Linked DNA regions of Homo sapiens: all the other regions are linked to region 1. Evidence: promoter capture Hi-C in 16 types of primary human blood cells and fetal thymus (Javierre and others, 2016). All regions are on one chromosome and are shown on one strand. The core of a region is centred on a gene start or on the middle of the fragment in contact, and the rest is flanking DNA. Distances in the headings are between cores, read along the strand shown.

Region 1 (3,672 bases), core at 452-2,951:
TAAAACAAACAAAAAATCTGAGTGTATTTGTCCCCATTTCCAAGCTAACAGGATTGGTGAAAATAAAATGGACTAAAGTAGGCTATCCTATAGGGAACTAAATTGCAAATAAATCCAGTATTGAGATGTTTGCCTTGATTTTGCCTATTTCTATCCATAGCTCAGTTTGAAACGACCATATTCGTGAAATGCCAGAGTTTGTTTAGATTACTGAAGGTATATTATTTGAGACCTCAAATCCAAATGACTTCCAAATTAGGATACCCAGAATATTTTTGGTCCTGACTGTTGCAGTATTATGCTCACCTTAATTTAATCTTCATAATTGAAAATAAGCAGAATCCACAATAAGTTTTTTTTTTTTTTTTGGAGACAGAGACTCACCCTGTTGCCCAGGTTGGAGCGCAGTGGCGTGATCTTAGCTCACTGCGACCTCCGCCTCCTGGGTTCCAGCAATTATCCTGTCTCAGCCTCCCGAGTAGCTGGGATTACAGGCGTATGACACCATGCTCAGCTAATTTTTGTAGTTTTAGCAGAGACGGGGTTTCACCATATTGGCCAGGCTGGTCTTGAACTCTTGAACTCAGGTAATACACCTGCCTTGGCCTCCCAAAGTGCTGGGATTACAGGCGTGAGCCACTGTGCCTGGCCAGGATTGGATATTTTAAAGGTTGGATCACTTGAAAATGGGGGAACAATGATCTGTGTGAGATCTATTTGGTTTCTATTATTAAACTTCTTGAAACTCAGAGCCAGGTGCAGTAGTGGTGAGTACCTGTAGTTCCAGCTACTCAGGAGGCTCAAGTGGGAGGATCACTTGAGCCCAGGAGTTCAACTCCAGCCTGGGCAACATAACAAGACTCCATTAAAAGAAAAAAAAAAAAAAAACTTTTTGAAACTCAGCTGCTACACATTGACTTTCCTCATTGTATATGTGCACCAGGTAGCTAAGGATACTTCAGGTCTTATATTTGGTTTTTCATAGGCAATCATGCATTCCCAAAAAAAAAGCGTTTTTTTCTAGAACTGGTATCGATAATTGTATCATTCTCATAAAATATTTTATTTATCCCAACTGATTTGCCTGTGATCACCCAGACTCACTTATCCAGAGACACACAAATGGGCAGGCAGGTAGACAAACGCTACACCTGCCTGCCCTTTAGGAGCTAACAATGTGATTACCTCTCCTCTCCACGCGCAACCCCTTCCGCCCTCAACACACACATTCATATCTTCCTTATTCTATTAATGAACATTTCCTCGGTGCTCACACAGCTCGTGCTAGGTTGCTCAGTGGTGTCATTTACAATATACTGAAAAATGAAAATGATATCCTCAGCGGGGCGTAATGTAGGGCTGAAAGGGAAAACACATTCCTGGCCCGGAATTTCTTAAACATTTAGAGCTGGTGAAATGGTTGTGTAGAGGTTGGGGAATTTCCCCAGCCTTCCCCGCTTAACCGAGTCTGATGCTGAGCTGAGCCAGGGCAGCTGAGATGCGCAGGGCTTGGGATTTACCTCTTCAGCCACTGGGAGGCCCTCTGCGTTCCCCTTTCCCCGGTGCCTGGCTGCGATTACTCACTCGCGCAGTGGCACCAGCCTTCCACCAGGGAGCCTCGAACGAGCTCTCCCGCCCTCTCCCCGCCCCCCCACCCCCATCTGCAGCTTGCTGGCTCTCTCTTTCTCCTTCTCTGTCTCACTCTCTCTCTTTCTCTCCCTCTCCTATCGGAGCACAATGAAAGCCTGTGTATCGCCGTGACTCCGGGCGCGAGCCAGTGTCAGCAAAGCGGCTAACAACAGACGAGAAAGAGAAAGGAAAATACAAGCTACTTTTTTTTTCCATCTATAAAGCGGAGCAAATACAGGAGATAGAACCAGATTGCTTATTGCGAGTCCAGACCCTCAGATCCACTGGCCGGGGATGGAATGTACAAAAGTGGACAGAAAAGTGGCTGGACATGACTCGGTGCAATTTGCTGGAAGTTTGTAAGTTTGACCATCGTTTGTAAATTACTCTCGGAAGAGTTTGTCTCTCTTGATACTGTATTAGAATAGAGCCGGGGGTGAGGAATAGAAACGTAAGCGGGAAAGAAAAAAATGTGTTGAAGGATCTCTCTCAGTGGCTAGCGACTTAAGATTGCTTTTCATTTAAGGCTAGGAAACCTTAGAGGGAGTGAGGATTTTACCGGTGATTGGATTAGCTGAAGAAAAAAGCATGGTCCAAAAGTCCAATTACTGACATTGTTAACAGTTGAAAAGCTGTCTCCCTCTTTTGGGAGAAGACAACATCCTACAGTACCCCAAAGAGGAGAAAACACCGGAGCGAAAGGAAAGGGAGGAAAAATTAAAAGCCAAAAGACAGTCTCCCTTGATTTTTGCACATTTTGAACAGTGACTTAAACATCTTCTGAAACAGCACTGTTTTGTTTTGTTTTGGTTTTTTATTTAACCTGAGGAAAAGTCAAGGCTGCTGGTTACATAGACATGGTAGAAATGTGTTTCTCTGCAGAAACATCCCCATAAAGAATTGTCGGAAACAACTAGGTGAGGGGGAGTCCTCTCTATTAATACCTCTCTCAATACCTTTTGCTGTGTGTTTCTGTCTCTTGCTGGACAATCCCTGAATTCTTGATCTAACCCCCAGATCGTGTGTTTACAAAGTACCTAGTGGCTCTTGTCAGCTTGGTGGAGGAAAAAAAATCCACCAACTCTGTCCAACTTCTCCAGAGCTGTCAAATGCAATTAGAGTAAGTTAATCAGGGTTTGTTTCCAACTTATCCTCCCCCCAGTTGGTTTCTATTCTTTCTCCCCACCCTCTTTTTACTAACTCCCCTCCCCCACAACTTCTCCACGGCTCCCCCACAACCTCTGAAGACCTCTATTCATGTGGCCCTGAACACTGAGCTCACATTGTCAAAAACAGACTTGCCTGCAATAGCCAGCAGTAGCCTCTTTCCACCTCACCATCCCAGAGGCAGCAATCATTGTGTCCGGTAAGATGGGGGACACAGCGCCCCCGCAGGCCCCCGCAGGAGGGCTAGGGGGGGCCTCTGGGGCGGGGCTCCTTGGAGGGGGCTCAGTCACCCCGAGAGTGCACAGTGCTATCGTGGAGCGCCTCCGGGCTCGGATCGCTGTCTGCCGCCAACACCACCTGAGCTGTGAAGGACGATATGAACGAGGTAGGGCCGAGAGCTCAGACCGGGAAAGAGAAAGCACCTTGCAGCTCCTGAGCCTTGTACAGCATGGCCAGGGGGCAAGGAAAGCTGGCAAACACACCAAGGCCACCGCCACTGCTGCCACCACTACAGCCCCTCCACCGCCCCCTGCTGCCCCTCCTGCGGCCTCCCAAGCAGCAGCAACAGCAGCCCCACCGCCCCCACCAGACTATCACCATCACCACCAGCAGCACCTGCTGAACAGTAGCAATAATGGTGGCAGTGGTGGGATAAACGGAGAGCAGCAGCCGCCCGCTTCAACCCCAGGGGACCAGAGGAACTCAGCCCTGATTGCGGTAAGCACCTGGCTTTCTCATGGTTCTGGCTGTGGTCCTGTGACCTTTTGTGAGGGTAGAGTTTGCTTTGGCCTAAGGTAGAGTGGATGGCAATGAAAAAGGCCAAGATGTCACCTGACTACCTTAAAGGCCATTGGGTGTGTTCGGGTGGTTTCATGC
Region 2 (3,672 bases), core at 864-3,363, 550 kb after region 1:
CAAAGCAACAGAATCTCAGTACTGCAATGACAAGGAACTGAATTTGGCTAAGAATCTTAATGAGCTTGGAAGCAGATCTTCCCCAGAGCCTCTAGTAAAGAACAGAGCCCCAAGCAAAGCCTTGATTTCAGCCTTGTAAGGCTCTAAACAGAGGACCCAGATAAGCCTACACAGATTTCCGACCTACAGAAAACTGAGATAACAAATATTTAAAGCTAAGTTCATGGCAATTTGTTAAGGCGACAAGAAAACTAATACAGATGGCAGGTTCCAGGAATAAATGTATTTCAAAGTAGCCAGAGCAAAGGATGGGAAAGGAAAAAACAGAAGACAAGTTAGGGATGAAGCTGGTGAGGCATATAGGGTCTAGGTTATGAAAAATTAAGAATTTATTATGTAAGCTATGAAGAGATGCTAAAGCTTTAATTTTGTGGGAGAGATGATGGATAATGACAAATGACAGAAATGTTGTTAACTGGGGATGAGGAGGAGAAAACAGGCAGGGAGATTAATGAGGAATGTACTATGAACATCTGGGCTACAGATGATGAAAGCCTGAACCAAAGCAATGAGAACACAAAAAGGCAGAAAAAACAGTATGCTTTTGGTATATTTCAGAAGCAAAAAAAGGTCTTCATTCCGGACTAATAGTGGGGATTACAGAGCAGTCACTGATGACTCAAAGTGTTTTAGCATCAGTAATTTGGTGGATGATGATGTTCAACAATCAATATAAGGAATACAAGAAAAGCATAATATTTTCTGGGGGCTGAAACTGGAAGCAAAGGGGAAATATATTTTCCTCTAATGGCAAAATAATGGAGGACAAAGTTAAGAATTTTAAAGCAGCAAGAAAACACAAATAACATTTATTTCGTTAGGCTCGATTACCTCTGCTGTTGCTTTCTGGATAGGCAAGTGTAGGCTTACTTGGGGAGCGTCGTAGATCACTATTAAGGAAAGGCTTATCCGAAGGATATACTACATATGGAGATGAAGAATGCCGAACCATGCTTCCATTAGACCTTGATGGCTCAGCAAAGCTGTTCTAAAAAATAAAGACACAAATTACCTTTCAAAAGTGTGAACCACAAATAGCAGATTTAAATCACAAATATTTATGACTGAGATTGACTGTCCATACAGACAACAGAAAAAATCCACTGACTAGAAACAATACAATTCAATCATTAAAGAAATACAACTTTTAAAGTGTTTCATATTAGTCTGAATATAGCCATATGCCAGACACAAGAAGAAAATAATGTTCATACAACTTGAATACAAATGCTGTGCAGAAATACTTAAATGATACAATGAATGTAAATACCGCAGTTAAAAATATATACTGTGAAATATACGTTCAGAAAAATAAAAACATTATTTTTACAGGACCAGAAACTGCTACAAATGACTGAATTACTCTATTCCCCATCCACAAACTACTACTTGAATATTTATAGTATTCAAAACTCCAGAAAGAAAATAAGGCACTGTCCTTGCCTCAAATACTTTACATTTAATTAACAAAAAAGAAAATAATTAGAAAACATTAAGGCCCATCAAACACTCAAACATAAAACTTTATTTCCACAGTACACCATTCTGTCATGAATGAGATTCTGTTAAATTTAGGATTCCACATAATAATTTCAACCCAGGAGATGCTAACTGTGGAGTTTTATTTGTTGTAGGCGACTTCCTACTGACAGATGGTCCTAGACTGGGGGAAGTAACTAAGAAGCTGAGGGCTAAGGTGGAAGATATGACTACCAGCTATTCAAAATGTTCATCCACTTTCCTTCCTCAAACGGCCACAGCAAACTATGTTTTTCAATTCTTACCTTTGAAGATTTACATTTACCAGAATAATCCGTGTTCATAAAAGTACAAGAGCACAATGAATATTTAAAACAGTAAACAATCTCCTGAAACAAAGGCTATCGAAATACCTGCACTGTATTTAAATCTTATTTAAAATTAAAGATTTTACTTCCATGTTAAAAATCATGCAAATTTCCAGGTGATTTAAGAAAGCAAATATAAAACATTTTCTATTTATATAAATATAAAACACACTATGGCTATGACAATCAAAAGTGGGGACAAAGAGCTTAGGAGGGTAGGGCCAAGTCTTAAAAGTGGTACTCAAATAAATAAGTGCTAAGTCTACTATAGTATGTTCATATATAACAAAGACTAGTATTTGTCATTTTCCAAACTTAATGGCAAATTGGCATCTGGTTTTACAGGTAACTGGAAAATAGGATGAGTTTTCAATTCTTTATAATATTGTCAAAGGTCTTGCAAAGCATCCTCAATTACTGCATAGCTTAATTTTAAATGTCACAGAGAACCTCAAGTTTTCATTGGTTATTTACAACCCACCAGAATCCTATCATTTAATATTCAAAAATATTAAGTGACTTGCCGACCACCCTCTGCCCAGTCAGGGGAATCCCATTAACTATGTGATTAACTAACAAACTAGTTCCCCAAATGGAACTACCTCTGTTCTACATTTTGTATGTTAGTGGGCTTGCCCTTTACTATTTTATATCACTCCTCATGACATATACATTTTTATTATCTGTATGCCCTGTGGTATAATAAAAAATATATTTAGTCTTTTGTCCTTGGTTTCAGATACAGATTCAAAAACTCCTAGAATTTCTTAAGTGATAGGGTATCCTTGTTAGGCTGATGAAGGGACTCAAGGTAGGGCACCTAGGTAGCTTCAGGTTTGAAGGCATCTTCTGGAAGCTGGTTGCCAGAAAAACCAACCACTAGATTATAAAGAGCTACAGATTTCAGCCAGGCATGGTGGCTCATGCCTGTAATCCCAGCACTTTGGGAGGCCGAGCTGGGCGGATCACTTGAGGTCAGGAGTTCGAGACCAGCCTGGCCAACATGGTGAAACTCTGTCTCTAACTAAAATACAAAGAAATTAGTCAAGTGTGGGGGTGTGCCCTGTAATCCCAACTACTCAGGAAGCCAAGGCAGGAGAATCACTTGAACCCAGGAGGTGGAGGTTGTGGTGAGCCAAGATTGGGCCACTGCACTACAGCCTAGGCAAGAGAGTGAGACTCCGTCTGTGTGTGTGTGTGTTGGGAGGGGGGTGGGGTGGGGGGGAAGAGTCACAAATTTCAGCCCTAGGCCCTGACCTTAGGGGAGGTAAGGGACAGATTGAGCCCAGTGACCAGCGGACAATAATTTACTCAATTATGTATTTATGTAATGAAAGCTCAATGAAAACTCTTGAATAATGAGGTTTGGGGAGCTTCTAGATTGTTGAACATACTGATATGCTGGGAAGGTGCTGCACCAGAGGATACAGAAGCCCTTTCACACCTTGCCCTATGTCTCCTCCATTTGGCTGTTTCTGAGTTGTGTCCTTTATAAAACTGAAATTGCTTAAGAACAGTCTTTCCTGAGTACTGTGAGCCGTTCTTGGAAAGCTGCAGGAATCCCATAATTTGTAGTCAGCTGAGCAGAAATGCAGATGCTCTGCGAACTCTGACTGACTTGGGGGCAGGCAGTCTTGTGAAACGGAGCCCCTTAATGTATGGGGGTCTGAGCAACATCTGGGCAGTGTCAGAATTAAAATAATTGTAGTACACCCAGTTGGTGTAGAATTTTTGCTGGAGAAATTAAGTTCTAATAAAGGAGTTT
Region 3 (3,672 bases), core at 613-3,112, 520 kb after region 1:
GCAGCAAGTAACCCCAATATTTTTTTTACTTCCAAAACATACCTCAAATCTGTTTACCTCTGCCCAAACCCAACTACTGTCTTGCTGACCACCTCTGATACATCTATAGCTGATCTCTCAGCCTCTCTGCCTTGATCCCATTACCCTACCCCTAGTCACTACAGTAATCTCTTAAATATATGAATCATGTTTCTCTCTGGTTGAAAACCCTTGAGTGTGATGTCACCACTGCATCTGGTAGTACTACATTGTTGGCTGATATAAAATGATTAGCAACATAAATATATTTCACATATTTAATGTATGACTTATTCCTTTGGAAACAGAATTTCGCAGGTGCTTTTAAAAAAACTTACTTGGATAAACTCCAATTTAAATTCATCAAAGAAGTTAAAGCTTATTCATAAAGAATATTAAATATATTCAGTATTTGAAAGATGTTTCTTAGATGAATATGCTAAGTGACTAAAAGTGTCTTCTTTCTTAATCCACTTACCAATTCTCAATGAACAAATGTCTTCAGTAAAGAAGTATCTCCTGTAGATATTTATCTATGATACACTTAGTGTCATCATTTAATATTTGAATTAAAGTGTTTTTTTTTTCTTAATCATTAGAAACTTGAGTGAAGGAAAACTGAGTTACCTGGGCTTGGTATTTTCGAACTTTAGTTATTTGGTTGGCTTTTGCTTCCATCCTTCCCACTAATGCCTCCAATTCACACTCCAACTTGTCTTTCAGTTCAACGGTTGGCGACTCCTGGATAAGTTTTGCAAGCTGCTGGTGATCACTATATACAAAGCAGAAGTAGAACATGGTTAAGTTTTCTGTGTTTCATGGTTAGGTCTATTATACCTCATTATGGGTTACTGCTCCATGTGTTTAAAAAATGACTCCATTTTTTGAACAGAGCAATAAATTTTTTTTTTTTTTTTGAGACGGAGTCTTGCTCTGTCGCCCAGGCTGGAGTGCAGTGACATGATCTCGGCTCACAGCAAGCTCTGCCTCCCGGGTTCACGCCATTCTCCTGCCTCAGCCTCCCGAGTAGCTGGGACTACAGGCGCCTGCCACCATGCCTGGCCAATTTTTTGTATTTTTAGTACAGACAGGTTTTCACCCTGTTAGCCAGGATGTGATATGCCCACTTCAGCCTCCCAAAGTGCTGGGATTACAGGTGTGAGCCACCATGCCTAGCCTAGATCAAGAAATTTTTAATTAAAAATATGAATTTAAAAGTTCAAGAAAGGCACTAGAGGGAAATGCAAGAGTTCTTAATTTCAAGGTTAATTCTTTATATTCTTATTTTCCCCAAAAGAGTATTGTATATGTAAAGTCTACAGATGAATCTTGCTCTTCAAACACTCATGTCTTATCAGTTAAGTTTAGCTAAAATGAATGTGATGTCAGGTGCCAGATGATGATGTAGTAAACAACAGACCACATATACAACAGTGGTCCCGTAAGACTTTAGTATCATATTTTTACTCTACCTAGATGTTTATATACACAAATACTTACCATTGTGTTACAACTGCATATAGTATTTAGTAGTAGAGTAACATGCTGTATAGGTTTGTAGCCTAGGAGCAATAAGCTATAAGCTTAGCACACTCTTATGTTAGCACAAGGAAAAGAAAATCGCCTAATGATGTATTTCTCAGAGCACATCTTTGTCATTCAGTGATGCATGACTGTATATCATAAGTTCTCAAAGAAATAAAACTTAAATATAAACCTTGGTCTTCAAAACATTTAACAGTATTTAAAAAGAGAGAGATTTTACCCTTATTAGTTGTATTTGTTAAAGTCCCAGTAACTTGGTTGGTATAAGGATTGTGCTCAACCATACTTGCTCAACAAAGGAAAGTAAGATTTAATAAAGTCAACAAGTTTTTAAAAAATGAGGTTTTAGAGCTAAACTGAATTTAAAAAAAAAAACAAAAACTCACAAGCTCATTTGCCCAAATTCATCCTGTAAAGTCTGTAAGACTTCTGACAACTCCTCATTAATACCGTTGGAGGAGGGAGGTGTTACTGACAACTTCTTACTTTTACCACCTCGTGAAGATACTTGCTTTGCCAAAGGAATACTGTTGATGACTCGATCATTGCACAAAGCTTTACTGTGTTGCTTCATTAGATGCAAGACAAGCTGAACATTGGCTACCACGGCATGGCTAGGGCTTGTGGACTAAAGGAAGAAAAATGATGAAAGAAGTAATTGAAGTTATATTCTCTACACCACTTTCTATTCCCTAAGCCTAGGTAAAAAGAACTCTCCACCCCCTAAAGTAGAGTATATAAATCCTAAAATTATTCTCATCATGATGTTCTTCTATTTGAAATCCTTTGATATAAATCCACTAACTATGTTTCAGAATGGAAAATAAGGCCCTACATACACATCATTGAGCTGCAACCTACATTTCCTAGCCTCATGTCCTATCATCCTCCCCTTCTCTCCATTTTGTGAACAAACCATATTTGCAGATGACATTTTTTTGGTGTATTAGCAACATTTATATCATTCTTTAAAACCCAGTTCAAATATATTATTTTTAAAGGCTTCCTTAAAACTGCCAGGTAATCAATCAGTCCATTATCAGATCACCTATAACACTTTTTACATCTCTCTCATAGCATTTATCATATTTTAATTGCTTTTACATATCTATTTCACCTATTAAACAGTGTACATCCAGGTGGTAGACACTATTGTTCATTTCTGTATCCTGGAATAATAGGAAGCACTAAATTACATGTCTATCACGTGTGTAAGAAAAACCTGATAGACTTCTCAAAGATATTTTGCTTTTGTTTTAAACACTAAACCAACAATCTCAATGTACTATTCCACTTTATAAATAGATGGCTGGGCTTACTTGGCTCCATAAATATTATTAGAAAGCATATTTAAAATGCAGGTTCCTAGGCAGCACACCAAACTCACTGCAGAGTTAGGGTTTGGAAATTTGTGTTTTCAAGTCCTCCAGTTGATTTTGATTAGCCAGATTTGGAACCACCATGCTAAGCTAAACATATGCTTTCCTTCTAATCTTAGTTTCTATTGTTAGCTAGCAAAGTGAATGCAGCAGTATTATATATCACATCCAAGTGGGAGTTTATTACATCAATGCAAGGCTGGTCCACTATTCAAAAATCAATCGATGTAACCACTATTTTGCTCGTAACTTGTAATATATATTTAGCATACTAATTGCCTATGAGTACACTTTCAATATGCAATAATTTAAAAAATTCTCGTTCTGTTATTTTTCTGATTATATTAATATGCACTTGACCCTTGAACAATGGAGGGGTTAGGGGCACCGACCACCCATGTAGTCAAAACTCTGCCATAATGAAATTTTTTTTTCCTTCAACTTTTAAGTTCTGGCGTACATGCGCAGGTTTGTTATATAGGTAAATGTGTGTCATGGTGGTTTGCTGCACAGATCAACCCATCACCTAGGTATTAACCCCAGCATCCATTAGGTACTCTTCCTGATGCTCTCCCTCCCCGTTGACCAACTCCCCCACCAAACAGGCTCCAGTGTATGTTGTTCCCCACTATGTGTCCATGGGTTCTGATCATTCAGCTCCCACTTATGTAACTGAGAACTATAATAAATTTTGCCCTAAAATGTAATAGCCTGCTGTTGACTGGAAGCA

What was found. Contacts are between HindIII fragments. The CHiCAGO score rates a contact against its expected background, and 5 or more counts as called.
Region 2: a fragment that was not itself captured here is called in contact with the fragment with the promoter of MAML2 in region 1 in 2 of 17 cell types (total B cells and fetal thymus); the score reaches 5.3 in total B cells.
Region 3: a contact is called between a fragment that was not itself captured here and the fragment with the promoter of MAML2 in region 1, in 3 of 17 cell types (activated CD4 T cells, fetal thymus and total B cells). The highest score is 5.6, in activated CD4 T cells.

The regions. Positions count from the first base shown.
Region 1 is chr11:96,341,224-96,344,895 of GRCh38, reverse strand. MAML2 (mastermind like transcriptional coactivator 2) reads left to right here and starts at 1,701. Exons shown (of 5, transcript NM_032427.4): 1 at 1,701-3,513. The coding sequence starts at 3,001. MIR1260B (microRNA 1260b) reads right to left here and starts at 3,458; the gene lies at 3,370-3,458. RefSeq lists silencers at 1,518-1,707, 2,825-3,084. The HindIII fragment of the contact is 8,013 bases long and covers 1-3,672 here.
Region 2 is chr11:95,796,608-95,800,279 of GRCh38, reverse strand. CEP57 (centrosomal protein 57) reads right to left here. Exons shown (of 11, transcript NM_014679.5): 2 at 892-1,048. Among named protein-coding and RNA genes, the nearest start is that of CEP57, 7.9 kb to the right of the region's middle. The HindIII fragment of the contact is 3,381 bases long and covers 423-3,672 here.
Region 3 is chr11:95,826,305-95,829,976 of GRCh38, reverse strand. It overlaps CEP57 (centrosomal protein 57), which reads right to left. Exons shown (of 11, transcript NM_014679.5): 9 at 1,950-2,191; 10 at 646-790. Among named protein-coding and RNA genes, the nearest start is that of CEP57, 38 kb to the right of the region's middle. The HindIII fragment of the contact is 517 bases long and covers 1,604-2,120 here.